Regions from separate parts of the Homo sapiens genome. Here all the other regions are linked to region 5. The links are contacts of gene promoters, found by promoter capture Hi-C in human tissues and cell types (Jung and others, 2019). All regions are on one chromosome and are shown on one strand. The core of a region is centred on a gene start or on the middle of the fragment in contact, and the rest is flanking DNA. Distances in the headings are between cores, read along the strand shown. Region 1 holds the start of DYNLL1 (dynein light chain LC8-type 1). Region 2 holds the start of CABP1 (calcium binding protein 1). Region 3 holds the start of COQ5 (coenzyme Q5, methyltransferase). Region 4 overlaps GATC (glutamyl-tRNA amidotransferase subunit C). Region 5 holds the start of P2RX4 (purinergic receptor P2X 4).

Evidence for each region. The method cuts DNA at HindIII sites, captures the fragments that hold promoters and counts their contacts. A contact is called where the count stands out against the background at its distance.
Region 1: a fragment that was not itself captured here is called in contact with the fragment with the promoter of P2RX4 in region 5 in 1 of the 25 tissues and cell types used here (dorsolateral prefrontal cortex).
Region 2: a contact is called between the fragment with the promoter of CABP1 here and the fragment with the promoter of P2RX4 in region 5, in 2 of the 25 tissues and cell types used here (dorsolateral prefrontal cortex and lymphoblastoid cells).
Region 3: a contact is called between the fragment with the promoter of COQ5 here and the fragment with the promoter of P2RX4 in region 5, in 2 of the 25 tissues and cell types used here (dorsolateral prefrontal cortex and mesenchymal stem cells).
Region 4: a contact is called between a fragment that was not itself captured here and the fragment with the promoter of P2RX4 in region 5, in 2 of the 25 tissues and cell types used here (bladder and spleen).

Annotation. Positions count from the first base shown.
Region 1 is chr12:120,494,159-120,496,886 of GRCh38, reverse strand. DYNLL1 (dynein light chain LC8-type 1) reads right to left here and starts at 774. Exons shown (of 3, transcript NM_003746.3): 1 at 671-774; 2 at 334-471. The coding sequence starts at 465. It overlaps NRAV (negative regulator of antiviral response), which reads left to right and starts at 941. Exons shown (of 2, transcript NR_038854.1): 1 at 941-1,064. RefSeq lists silencers at 371-890, 1,181-1,230 and an enhancer at 450-1,116. The HindIII fragment of the contact is 4,647 bases long and covers 1-2,728 here.
Region 2 is chr12:120,639,339-120,642,055 of GRCh38, reverse strand. It overlaps CABP1 (calcium binding protein 1), which reads right to left and starts at 1,430. Exons shown (of 6, transcript NM_001033677.2): 1 at 717-1,430. The coding sequence starts at 1,370. It overlaps CABP1-DT (CABP1 divergent transcript), which reads left to right and starts at 1,534. Exons shown (of 2, transcript NR_183426.1): 1 at 1,534-2,006. RefSeq lists silencers at 451-550, 771-940, 951-1,050, 1,271-1,570. The HindIII fragment of the contact is 37,846 bases long and covers 1-2,717 here.
Region 3 is chr12:120,527,892-120,530,591 of GRCh38, reverse strand. It overlaps COQ5 (coenzyme Q5, methyltransferase), which reads left to right and starts at 1,434. Exons shown (of 7, transcript NM_032314.4): 1 at 1,434-1,652. The coding sequence starts at 1,451. RefSeq lists enhancers at 1,098-1,557, 904-1,673, 1,674-2,444. The HindIII fragment of the contact is 25,598 bases long and covers 1-2,700 here.
Region 4 is chr12:120,454,560-120,457,259 of GRCh38, reverse strand. GATC (glutamyl-tRNA amidotransferase subunit C) reads right to left here. Exons shown (of 4, transcript NM_176818.3): 3 at 81-184. Among named protein-coding and RNA genes, the nearest start is that of GATC, 9.5 kb to the right of the region's middle. The HindIII fragment of the contact is 8,224 bases long and covers 1-2,700 here.
Region 5 is chr12:121,208,757-121,211,456 of GRCh38, reverse strand. It overlaps P2RX4 (purinergic receptor P2X 4), which reads right to left and starts at 1,328. Exons shown (of 12, transcript NM_002560.3): 1 at 1,159-1,328. The coding sequence starts at 1,292. It overlaps LOC105370032 (a long non-coding RNA gene), which reads left to right and starts at 1,385. Exons shown (of 4, transcript XR_001749352.3): 1 at 1,385-1,608. RefSeq lists an enhancer at 503-552 and a silencer at 883-1,622. The HindIII fragment of the contact is 10,060 bases long and covers 1-2,700 here.

The sequences.
Region 1 (2,728 bases), core at 212-2,711, 710 kb after region 5:
AGCTCCCCCCTCCGGAACACCCAGATGGATCCTCGGCGCAGGAACCACACAGAAGGGGGAACCGCTGCTCCCTGATCTTAGATACCGTTGCTAGGTGGCGCTTTCCCCCCGCGGAGCTGGGTAATTAAAAAAAAAAAAAAAAAAACTTCGGACGCCGGGGGTCTGGTCTTCTCCACAGGAGCGCAAAATGCATCTGCGTCCTTTCTGGAAGCTTCTACGCCCCAAGCCGCCAGCAGTATTCCCGGGACCTGTCAGGCGCCCTTAGGAAAGCAGGATCGGGGGGAAGGAACCCCCTGCTCCCGGCTGCGTATCGGCCCCCGCGCCCATCCTCACCTTCTTGATATGAGCCGCAATGTCCTTCTCTATGTTGTATTTCTCCAGCGCCTGAGTAGCGCACTCCACCGAGTCCTGTTGCATCTCTTCCGACATGTCCGCATTTTTGATCACGGCCTTTCGGTCGCACATGGTTACCTAGTGGGCAAGGCCTGGGGTAAGGGGTTGAGTTGGGCCGCGCCCCCCAGGCACTAACTGCCCCCACCCCGGCCGGCGCCACCACGGGACGACGCCCCCCACCCCACTTCTCAGGAAGCGCGGGCTACGCGGAGGGCTAAGTCCGGAGTGGGGCGAAATAAGGCAGCGAGGACACCCCCTGGCCCCCCGAGTTTCTCACCGTGGAGAAGGGGGCTGGCCGACTGCAACGGTCTCCTGGGGGAGGTGCTAGCACAGCTCAGGCCCGGCTAGAGATACCGTCGCTACCGAAACCGTGGCGCATCTAAGCAGCCCCACGCCAGCCGCCGCCGCCTAGTGCTCAGGCCCCGCCCTGCTCCCGCCGGCCCCGCCCCTCGCCGCGCGACCCTATTGGCTTGACGCAGCCCACGGCATTCTTCCATTGGTCCATTGACTCCATGGTTCCCTCAGGATCTTTCTCCTGCATTTTGTTGCAGACCACAATGCACCGCTCACGGCGTCGGTTGCCCGGGCAATGGGCCGCACGCTACGAGGCCCACACACCCAGAAGGTGGAGCCCCGGCCGGGTTACGAGGACCACCCAGCTGTCTGGAGAGGTAGGAAGGGAGCTTCTGCCGGGGCCAAGGGAAGTGATTCCAAATTCACGGAGGTTGTCCCAGGGTGTGTTCTCGAACAACAGTCTCTAGAAGTTGGTGGCCATTCCTGCCCCCACCCCCCCGCCCCCCCACCACGACAGGTCGCATGATCTCGCACCCCAGGTTAGCAGGATTACGACAGAGGTGGCCTCTCCCTTTACTGAAAGGGTATCTCTGAAGCAGGGCCGGCTTCGTGGGTAAACCAGCAGTGCAGTCTCACAGGAGGGACCCTTACGTTTTCATTTTGCACTGGGCCCCATTTGTAGTCGGTTCTGCTCTGAAATATTTAGGGGAGGGCATCCTCAGGATTGAGGGAGGGCTTCAAGGAGGGAGGGTGTTTCCTTACGAATTAAGGGATTATCCCCAAGAGTGGGGTCTCTGCCAAGCAATGCGGACATCCTTTAAGGGGTTGGGGATGGGGATCCGGGTGGATTTGGGAGTGTTGAGCCCCGGGGTTTTTGTCCAGGGTGAAGCTTCTTGCTCAGGTGAGGCAGTCTTTCCTGTGTGGGAGAGATTCTTGGTTGGGATTTATCTCTGAGGAGGAGGTATTCTAATGGACGAAAAAGCGGCCGTTAGAGAGATGACGTCCCCTCTGGCTTAGGGAGGAGACACGAAGTGGTTAAAAAAGCAAGATCTTGGGGGAGTTGAGGGACAAGTCAGATCTGGATTTAAATCCCAGCACTGTCATTTACTAGCTATTTGAATGTCTTCTTTAAGTAAAGGAGGACTAAATGTAAAAGGAAACCAGTTCATACGCTTGTTAGCAGTATTAAACATTTGAAGTTCTCTCAGCACAATGTGAGGCACATAGTAAATGATCAATGAATCTTATCAATAATTGTCAGTTTATACAACTATCCCAAAGGCCACAGCAAGGTTTTGAACAACCAGCTCTGAAATGCCTATAATGTATTTTTCGAACCTCCATAAATAAGTTATCAGGTTAATCATGTATCTGGAAGCTTCCTATTTACATTTCTACATTTTCCTCTGACCATCTACTCTCATTACTCCTTAAAACAATTTGTGGCTGGGCATGATGGCTCACACCTGTAATCCCAGCACTTTGAGAAGCCGAGTCAAGGGGATCGCTTGAGCTCAGTAGTTGGAGACCAGCCTGGGCAATATGGCCAAACCCCATCTCAAAAAATAAAAATAAAACAATTTGAGCAGAGGCACACAACTCCAGAAAGAAAAAGATGGGAATAGGCCGGGTGCGGTGGCTCATGCCTATAATCCCAGCACTTTGGGAGGCCGAGGCGGGTGGATGACCTGAGGTAAGGAGTTTGAGACCAGCCTGATCAACATGGAGAAACCCCATCTCTACTAAAAATACAAAATTAGCTGGGCATGGTGGCACGTGCCTGTAATCCCACCTACTCAGGAGGCTGAGGCAGGAGAATCACTTGAACCCGGGACACAGAGTCTGTAGTGAGCCGAGATCGCGCCATTGCACTCCAGCCTGGGCAACTCCGTCTCAAAAAAAAAAAAAAGGAAAAAAATGGCAATAATTAGAACCTTTTCAGGTTCAACATATGCATATCAATTAAATCAACAGCTTTTTCCAGTTCCATGTTTCTAATGATGAGATTCAGGGTTTGAGGAGTTATAATATTACTATAGTA
Region 2 (2,717 bases), core at 181-2,680, 570 kb after region 5:
GGCTCCCAGGTGCCTGGGACTCTTGAGGGAAAGGCCTGAGGGAACCACTGATGACCTCTTTGTGGCCTTTCTCACCCTTCCAATGGCATCCCTAGAGTGACAGCCTCCTTAAACCACCCCAAAGTTCCAGTTTGAGCCACAGCTCTGCATGCCCCTCCATGCCTACCCAGACACCTCTTCTCTTTCCTCATATTTTTGGATCTCCTAACTTTTCTCAGGCCTTCAGGGACATGATAGGCAGTGGCCAGTGTCCCTCGCCCTCAAGTAATTCTGTGTTCTCTGAGGTCCCCTCTCTTGACCCCCAGACTCCAAACCGCTTGCTCTCCTGAGTCCCTCCCTGGCGGTACTGGCCAGAGGCCAGAGGAGTGGGTTTGGCGCCACCTGCTCGGAGCGCCCCTCCTTGACCCCCGCAAATCTCCAGGACGGTCGTAGAGGTCGCTCTCTTCCAGGACTGGCGGGTTCTGGCGGGTATGAGGGAGGCTAGCGGGGAGGGCCTTGCCCCAAGAGGCCCGGAGCGTGGACAGCGCACGGGGTGCTGAATCAGGCACGGGGAGGAGGAGTGCCGGCAAGGGCGCCGGCCCGGGGAGGACGAGGTGAGCCGAGGCGTGATCCGTGGGGGACCACGGGCCGCGGGAGGAGGCTGTGGACGCGCAACCGCGGCCGGCAGGGTCCCGAGCGCCTTTCCCGGGAGCGCTGACGGGAGGCGCGGCCCTTACCTGGCCAAAGGCGGAGCTGAGCATGGGGCGCAGCCGGTGGAGGAACGGGTCCGCCTCGGACGCGGCGGCTGGAACGGAGTCCCCGCGGCCCCGGGCTCGCAGAGAGCCCCGGAGGCCGAGCGCCGGGGACAGTCCCCGTTCCTCCCCATCCCGCCCGCGGGCCGGCGGCAGCGGCGACGACGGCGAAGGTCGGGACGCCGCGGCCGGCAGCGCCTCCCGGGGCCTGCAGTGCGCCTGGGGGAGCACACGCTGGCTCCCCCGCGCGCCCTCCTCTCGCGGCGCCGGCCGGCACAGGGGCCTCCGCGAACTGGGGTCCCCGGACGACTGCGGCGTCGCCGGGCAGGAGCCGGGTAGCCGGCGGCTAGGCAGCCCCGGGTCCCGGGCAGGGCCGTGGCGGGGAGCCCGGCTGCCCCCGCTCGCCGCCGCCGCCGCCGCCTTCAGCAGCGACGTCTTGGACTCGCTTTTGGCGATGTGCGAGCTCATCGCGGCGGGGCCCGCGCTCGCATGGCCCGGCGGGGGCGGCGCGGTGCGGCGCGGCGCGGGGCCCCCGGCGGGCAGAGAACGGGGCTCCCGGCGGGAGCCAAGCCCGAGGACGCGCTGGAGGCGGGCGCCGTCCCCCGGCCGCTTAAATGCGGCCCCGTCGCCGCCGCCCATGTGACAGCGCAGCCTCTACGCCCGGAGCCCGGAGCTCCCGGCGGCTGGCGGTGCAGATCTGGGGGCGCTGCCGGCTGTCCCCGGAGAGCCCACCCCCGGCTCCCTGGCGGCCCAGGTACCGCCGCGCCCCGCCCCTTGCCCCGCCCCGCCCTGGGGGAGCCCCGCTTCCGGGCGGCCCCTGGCGGCGAAGGGGACGCTGCAACGCGGAGCGGGAGCACGAGGAGGGAAGGGGCTTGGCAATGGGCCCCAAAGAGGCCGAGACCCCGGGAGTGCCGGCAGCGCTCTTTATCACGCCTGGAGGCTCCTGCAGAGCCCCGGAACCGCCCGAACCTCCAGAAATGCAGGCAGGGTGCACTCCCCAGGGGGTACAACTTTGGCAATGAGGACTACAGAGGTCCGGGGAGAACCGGAGACCCGAGGAGCATGAAGGCACTCTGTGACATCACTGCCTACAAACGCAGGGGCCGGAATGCAGTGACAGGACACTGCTGGGAGGAAAGTCTCCCAGCGCCTCCGTGTGGGGCTGCCTCCACTCCCAATACCGTGCGGGGGGACTAGGACGACCCTGGTAAGTCAGCCACAGGATATCAGTTCTCAGAATAGAAGAGAAGCCAGGTCTGGCAGCACCTGATGATGGTAAGTCTCAGGTAGGACCCATTTGCTCCCCCTCCAGCTCTTGTCCCCTCTTTCACCTTCCTGCCTTTCTAGATGCTACAGAAATTCCTGCTCTCGGTGGGCAGCCAGGGAGCGTCCCAGGCCTTATCTGAATCTCAAATCCCAGCTCTGCCACCTACCATCTGGGTAACTTGGGCAGGTGTCATCAACCTCTCTGAGCCTTGTTCTCCTCTTCTGTAAAATGCAGATGATAAGCATAACTAATTTCTTGGTAACAGCAGACGATACTATGCACACAAAAGGCCTAGCCCAGTGCTCGGACAGGGGACCATCCAGTTAAGCCAGTTCCCTTCCCCCTGCACATCGTGAGGCCCCATCTACCATTCTTCTTTAGTATCCGGTGCTTGAGCTTTGCGGGGGGCTGGAGGGGTTCCTCCCAGGCTCTCCCTGTTCTGGTCCCTGGCCCCAATGCCATCCACAGTCTTGTCACCGCTCGGCCTCATTAAAAGGATACACGAGGCCGGGCACAGTGGCTCGCACCTGTAATCCCAGCACTTTGGGAGGCCAAGACCGGCGGATCACTTGAGGTCAGGAGTTCGAGACCAGCCTGGCCAACATGGTGAAACCCTGTCTCTACTAAAAATACAAAAATTAGCCAGGCGTGGTGGTGGGCGCCTGTAATCCCAGCCACTTGTAGGCATGAGAATAACTTGAACCCGGGAAGTGAAAGTT
Region 3 (2,700 bases), core at 185-2,684, 680 kb after region 5:
ATTTATTTTTGAGATGGAGTCTGGCTCTGTCACCCAGGCTTGAGTGCAGTGGTGCAATCTCAGCTCACTGCAACCAGTGACTCCTGGGTTGAAGGGATTCTCCTGCTTCAACCTCCTGAATAGCTGGGACTACAGGTGTGCACCACCATGCCTGGCTGATTTTTGTATTTTAGTAGAGACGGGGTTTCACCATGTTAGCCATGCTGGTCTCGAACTCCTGACCTCATGCAATCCGCCCACCTCGGGCTCCCAAAGTGTTGGGATTACAGGCGTGAGCCACCGCACCCAGCCACTTAATTTCTTTTAACAAAGACATGAGAATTATGAATACATGGATGAATCATTTCGCCCTTGTATCCTTCCTTTTTTTTTTCTCATCACTATACCAACGAGGACCTTCTATCATTCTTAAAATAAAAGAGAAAGAAACAGAAATCCCAGCGCAGTACTTCCCAAACGAAAGCGGTTAGGTGTCCATCTGTCAGGCTATATTAAACCAGGAAGAGAATTTTCATTTCAAAACAGTTTCTTCTATTGGCGCTTTCTCCTCGTGAAATATTTACAGGAAACATACATTTAAAATGGAATGAAAGCAGAAACATACAGTAATCCAAGCAAAACTCAACAACGTCCGTTCTTTATTTTGCACAAGACGGTCTGCATTACCCTTGCCATTAAAAAAAGACTGAAAATCTGGGGCTGAAGTAAAACACCCATGACATGCCACCTGGAGCTAGGAATGTAGCTTTGTGTCAGCAGGAGACCAAGTGTGAGTGGTGGTTCTGGCTTGCTAAGTGGATACCAGAGCTTTCGTTCCCATTTATGAGCTTCCTAGGTTCATAAAACGGACAGAACAAAGAAGTCTGTCCTATGTTTATTTTTCAGAGTAGTGTAACATATGTTTCTCAAGAATGGTCTGCATCTTTAGCATCAGAATCGCCAGAGAAATTTGTTTAAATAGAGATTAAAGGGATATAGGTCAGATCAAAATCTCTGGTAGTTGGGGACCCAGGAATCTTCATTTTAAAACGTAAACCAAGTGATTCTTACGCTCAACAAAGTGTGCAGGAATTGGCCCGTGATCTTGGCTTTTTAACCACACCATGCCTCAATTTCCCCCTTCTGCACAAGACAACAAGAGTTCCTGGATATCTTGCGAGTTAGTACTTTTCTGCCTAGCCGGATTCAGAGACATGGCCGCTAAGAGGTGACCCGGGGCTCCCCTGAGATCCCCTGATTCCTGGTGAATTGTAAATTCAATTTGAGAAGAGAGAGAGGAAGGGATTTCCGATACTTAGAGACCACCCTTTGGATCCTAGAGATAATGCCGGCACAACTGTGTATCAGATTTCAGGGCGCGTTCGGCTAATAATGTTGCCGGCCAGCCGCCGTCGTTCGTGGAGTGACGCAACAAGGCGTACTCTCTGGCCGTTGTCACTCGACTACCAAGATGGCGGCCCCCGGGAGCTGTGCTCTATGGAGCTATTGCGGCCGTGGGTGGTCGCGGGCGATGCGGGGCTGCCAGCTCCTCGGGCTTCGTAGCTCTTGGCCCGGGGACCTACTAAGTGCTCGGCTCTTGTCCCAAGAGAAGCGGGCAGCGGAAACGCACTTTGGGTTTGAGACTGTGTCGGAAGAGGAGAAGGGGGGCAAAGGTGAAAGGGGCGAGAGGGCGGATGGGAGGGATCTGACCGTCCATGGTCTGGTTTCTTCTGGCCAGTTAGGGTTGATTTAACATCCAATTAGTTCCAGTGTTGTTGTCTGTGCAGTTATGATTTTTTTTTTTTTTGGAGACAGAATTTCGCTCTTGTTGCCCACACTGGAGTGCAATGGTCCGATCTTGGCTCACTGCAACCTCCGCCTCCCGGGTTCAAGCGATTCTCCTGCCTCAGCTTCCCGAGTAGCTGGGATTACAGGCGCCCGCCAGCACGCCCGGCTAACTTTTTTGTATTCTTACTAGAGATGGGGTTTCACCAGGCTGGTCTCGAACTCCTGACCTCAGGTGATTCGCCTGCCTCGGCCTCCCAAAGTGCTGGGATTACAGGCGTGAGCCACCGCGCCCAGCCAGACGCCCCCTTTTTAAAAGCAGAATACTGATGACTAAATCCCATCAACTGAGCGTTTGTGATGTGCCAGGCAACGTACAGACATTATTTTCAATTCTCATTTTCAACATTCCAGTAGTGGGTATTGTTATTACCATATTACACGTGAGGAAATTGAGACTTAAAGGTTAAGCAAGAAGTTGCCCAGTTGAACATATCAGTAAGTGGCGGAACCAGTATTCAAACCCAGTTTAATCTGAGTCTGAAGCCCCCGTTCTTTACCTCTAGAGAAAAATAGGGGTTTTTTTGGTTGTTTTTATTTATTTATTTATTTATTTATTTATTTTGAGACGGAGTTTCGCTCTTGTTGCCCAGGCTGGAGTGCAATGGCGCAATATGGGCTCACTGCAACCTCAGCCTCCTAGGTTCAAGCGATCCTCCTGCCTCAGCCTCCTGAGTAGCTGGGATTACAGGCATCTGCCACTGTGCCCTGCTAATTTTTGTATTTTCAGTAGAGACGGGGTTTCTTTTTTTTTTTTTTTTTTTTTTTTTTTTTTTTTTGAGACTGAGTCTCTCTCTGTCACCCCCAGGCTGGAAGGCAGTGGCGCGATCTCGGCTCACTGCAAGCTCCGCCTCCTGGCTTCACGCCATTCTCCTG
Region 4 (2,700 bases), core at 117-2,616, 750 kb after region 5:
ATCTTTGGTCCTCATGCTTCCTGCTTCATTCCTAAGGTTACTGTGAGACTATCTGTTAAACCATTCTGGGCAGCACGTACCTGGGGGGGCCACAAAGTACTCCTCCACGACGCGATGGGAGTTTTGTAGTAATTCATCAGCACAGTTGCCTTCTACCACATTGTCGGATCTCAGGTATAGACATCTACAAAACCCAGAAGCTCAAGGTTACCCTCTCAGAGAAGGGGGCTTTTAGGGGATGATGGAGAGGGGCAAGAAGGAGAGAACAAGGAAGCAGTATATTCTTGAGTTAATGGGCACTGTTCAAAGATAGAGAAGCTGGGATCAACAGTAGACCAAATAACAGCCTACAGTTTATAGATTGACCGAACAACCCTGAGAAGTAAGTGCTAATTACTTCTCTGGATTGATTTAACAAATAGTTTTTGATGATTATATGGGCAACTGTCTTTTGGTGGGGACAGGTAAAAGCAATTACAAAAACAATATTTTAAATCTAACAGAGGTTAGTACAGCCTGCCAAAGGATAGAAAGGGTACCTAGTCCAGCCTGCGTGAGTAGCACATCCTCAGAATAGCTGATGTCACTGTTCAAGGATGGGCAAGAAATAGCTGGATTGGGGGATGAAGGTATGAGAAATGGACTTCCTGGCACGTATAGCAGCATGAATCCCAAAGCAATAGAGCCGAGAGCTCAGAGATTCAGAGAAGGACAGGGAGTTTAGCAGGCTGGGGTGTGGTCTGCCGGGGTGGAAGATGAAGCTGGAAAGCTAAGCAGAGATGGGGAAGCAAACTTGCCACAAGAGTAACTTAAGGATGTTGGCTGCTAAGTAACAACTGGGATCTCAGCCCAATCTGATACACCTAAAATGAATGCTTTTTCCACCACAGCCACTTTGGTGGATGTGCCTGCCCTTGAGCAAGATGTGCCACCAACAGCTCAAGAATCTCCCAGTGTTCTGTGGGACCTAGTGACTTTACTAAAGCCTTCAGATGGCAAACCGGTAAAAAACACACAAGAGCTTGAACATTTGCATGAGGCTTCACTATTGTTTCAAGGTGTAAAAGTGTGTAAGCCTGCTTCCAGATACTTAGATTAAAAAAATAAGCAGTCTGTTAAATCACTGATATGGTATTCGGTAGTAGCCACGCTCCTCCTGCTTTGAGTGGGCACAGACTGAGGGCAGACCCTAATGGCGTTTGAGTCATGTCAGAGAGGGACAAAGATGTGACAGGTACATCTGGGCTAAGGCTGCACATAAGAACTAAGTTGTCAGCCGGGCGCGGTGGCTCACGCCTGTAATCCCAGCACTTTGGGAGGCCGAGGTGGGCGGATCACGAGGTCAGGAGATCGAGACCATCCTGGCTAACACGGTGAAACCCCATCTCTACTAAAAATACAAAAAAATTAGCCGGGCGTGGTGGTGGGCGCCTGTAGACCCAGCTACTTGGGAGGCTGAGGCAGGAGAATGGCGTGAACCCGGGAGGCGGAGCTTGCAGTGAGCCGAGATCGCGCCACTGCACTCCAGCCTGGGCGACAGAGCGATACTCTGCCTCAAAAAAAAAGAGAACTAAGTTGTCACAATAAGATTATTTTAGGAAAGGACTAGTTCTTTTTTTGTGGCACCCAGCCCAAAGCTAGACACAACAAATATTTACTCATGGTATGAATATTAGAAAGTTGAAGTCTGTTACAGGACCTGGCACATTCTTAACTGTGTGGCCTTGAACAAGTATGATCTTTTCAGACATTAAATTTCTTGGAGGGGGGCGGCGGGGTGTGGGGGAGAAAGGCCAGGTGTGGTGGCTCTTGCATGTAATCCCAGCACTTTGGAAGGCTAAGGCGGGTGGATCACCTGAATTCAGGAGTTCAAGACCAGCCTGGGCAACGTGGGGAAACCACATCTCTACTAAAAATACAAAAACTAGCCAAGCGTGGTGGCACGCACGTGTGATCCCAACTACTCGGGAGGCTGAGGCGGGAGAATCGCCTGAACCCAGGAGGCGGAGGTTGCAGTGAGCTGAGATGGCACCACTGCACTCAAGCCTGGGCGACAGAGCAAGAAGAAAAAAAAAAAGGCCAGGCACAGTGGCTCAAGCCTGTAATCCCAGCACTTTGGGAGGCCAAAGCAGGTGGATCACCTGAGGTCAGGAGTTCGAGACCATCCAATATGGTGAAACCCTGTCTCTACTAAAAATATAAAAGTTAGCCGGGCATGGTGGTACATACCTGTAATCCCAGCTACCTGGGAGGCTGAGGCACAAGAATCACTTGAATGTAGGAAGCAGAGTTTGTAGTGAGCGGAGATCACACCACTGCACTCCAACCTGGGTGACAGAGTGAGACAGTGTCTCACACACACACACACAAAAGAGAGTTGTACTAGATTTTTTTTTTTTTTTGAATAACACAAGGACTGTATTCATTTAAGAAAACTTGGGAGAACAAAAGTAAAATAAAAATCATAATTATACTATTCAAAGGTAACCCTTGGACTTTCTGGAGTTTATAGTTTCTGTTGGACAGTATTAAAAAATGGCTAAGAGGCCGGGCGCGGTGCCTCATGCCTGTGATCCCAGCACTTTGGGAGACTGAGGCGGGCAGATCACGAGGTCAGGAGATCAAGACCATCCTGGCTGACAGGGTGAAACCCCGTCTCTACTAAAAATACAAAAAAAAAAAAATTAGCCAGGCGTGGTG
Region 5 (2,700 bases), core at 79-2,578:
AGCATTTTGGGAGGCTGAGGTGGGCGGATCACCTGAGGTCAGTTCAGGACCAGCCTGAAACCCCGTCTCTACTAAAAAATACAAAAATTGGCCGGGCGTGGTGGCGGGCACTTGTAATCCCAGCCACTCAGGAGACTGAGACAGGAGAATTGCTTGAACCCGGGAGGCAGAGGTTGCAGTGAGCCGAGATCGTGCCATTGCACTCCAGCCCGGGCGACAAGAGAGAAATTCCGTCTCAAAAAAATAAAAAAATTAAAAAAGTAACAGGTGCCTTCAAGTACAATGGCACATTCAGCGAGGCCTGAGGGCGGTAGGGCATCTCTAGCCTAAGGGGGCAGCATGGGGAATGACTGACTAGGCTAGGGCAGGTACCACAAAAAGCCCCACAAGCCCAGAAAACAAAGGAAGCAAACTTTAAACACTCGCTACAGTCTGACCTCGCTACTACCACATAGTGACACCGCATAGTGATCAAAAGAAATGACCAAAAGCCACCCACCCAGAAGGAACCAAGCGGAAATTCCAAGCTTTGGTTTTGTCAGCAAATCAGCAGGATGGGAAGTGGAGAGCGAAGATTGAGACGTTCAGGGCGAAGCCCCTACAGCCAAGGGGCACTATGGGGGGTCAGGCAGGAGAGGGTAACAGCCTAGCCAGGCTTTGCCTTTATTTATTTTGTAAACAGACGGGTCTCGGACTGTCTCCCAGGCTCGAGTTAAGTGGTGTGATCATAGCTCACTGCAGCCTCAGCCTCTTGGGCTCAAGCGATCCTCCCACCTCAGCCTCCTGAGTAGCTGGGACCCCAGGCGCGCGCCACCAGGCCCGGATGATTTTTAATTTTTTGCAGAGACGGGGTCCCACGATGTTGCCCAAATTGGTTTCGAACTCCTGGGCTCAGGCGATGGTCCCGCCTCGGGCTCCCAAAGTGCTCGGATTACAGGCTTGCGCCACCGCGCCTGGCCCAGGCTGTGGTTTTAAAACAGCAGCAAGCAGCCTCCCGCCCCCGGGGCCCCGGCGCGGCGGCTGGGGCCCAGGGAAGGTGTCACCGCCTCGGCTCGCCGCTCCCGGACTCGCCCAGGTGACCGAGGCCAGGATGAGCCGCCGCACGGCGCGGACGCGAGGGCAGCACCCGCCGCGCCCCCCGCGCGGCCCCACGCTCACCCGATGACGTAGGCCAGGATGAGCAGTTGCACGGCGCGGTTCATGAGCCCCACTTTGCGGCTGCGGATGAGCACGATGCGCGGCGTGTCGTACTCGAACAGGAAGGCCGCCAGCGCGGCGCAGCAGCCCGCCATGGCCGCGCCGCCCGCTCCCAGTCCCCTAGTCGGTCTGGGTCCCAGTCCCCGCTCGGAGCCCCGCCCAGTCCGCCTGGCCTGCTGGCGGCGCCGTCATCGCGGAGGAGGGCCCGGAAGGAGGCAGCACGGGCGGTCGGGGCCCGGGGCCCGGGGGAGGGCGCCACCTCCCCGTCGGGAACGATGACCCTCTAGGGGGCATGGAACTCGCGGGGGGGGAGTGGCCTCGCCCTTGAGGACGAAAGGCTCCTTCAAAAGGCGGGCGAGGGGCCGGGGGCGGTGGCTCACACCTGTCATCCCAGCACTTGCGGAGGCCGAGGTGAGAGGAATCTTGAGTTAGAGACCAGCCTGGACAACATAGCGAGACCTCGTCTCTATCAAAAATACAAAAAAAAAAAAAAAAAAAAAAAAAAAGCGGGCGTAGTGGCGCTCGCCTGTAGTCCCAGGGAGGCTGAGGTGAGAGGATCGCTTGAGCCCAGGAGGTAGAGGCTGCCGTGTGAGCTGTGATCGCGCCACTGCACTCCAGTCTGGGAGATGAAGCGAGACCCTGCCTCAATAAACCAGAAACCAAAAAACAACAAAAAAGGCGAGTTGGGGAGTAATGACCTTCTCAGGAGGGCCAGAGAGAACAAGAGACCCTTTCGGGGAAGATGGGGTCCGCGAAGAGAGAGTGACCTCCCATTTGGGACAGAGTTCAAGTGAGGGGTAACGAGCGACCTCCCTTAGGGGTACTGATAGGTGCCAGGGATTTCCGTAGAGGACCCCGGGGCTGTGCGGAGTAGCCATCGCTCACGAGTGCGGGCTCCTAAACTTGGGCAGCTGTGGTTGGGGGAGCTGGGGCCGCGCTGTCCTTAGCCTCTTGGGGAACAGCCTAAATATCAGGTGTCCTGTGAGCCCTGGGTGAGAGCCACACGCCCTGTAAAATACCCCTCCTGGATTTGAAGCCTGGTCGCATTCTCACTCCAAATACTTCCTTAGTTGCAGCCCAGGGGAGATAATTCTGTGGTCATCCTTTCCACTGAGAAAATGCTATCACAACTTTAGGAGAGAAAATAGTGAAAGGGGGGGAAACAGCCACCGTTCTACCCCATGAATACAATTTTCCGCATGTGTATTTGTTCATTCCCTTCAGATACGTTTTTTCTTTTTCTTTTTCTTTTTTTTTTTGAGACGGAGTTTCACTCTTGTCCAGTCTGGAGTGCAGTGGCGCGATCTCGGCTCACTGTAACCTCCGCCTCCCAGGTTCAAGCAATTCTCCTGCCTCAGCCTCTTGAGTAGCTGGGATTACAAGTGCCCGCCACCACGCCCAGCTAATTTTTGTATTTTTATTAGAGACAGGTTTTCACCATGTTGGCCAGGCTGATCTCCAGCTCCTGACCTCCCATGATCCACCCGCCTCGGGCTCCCAAAG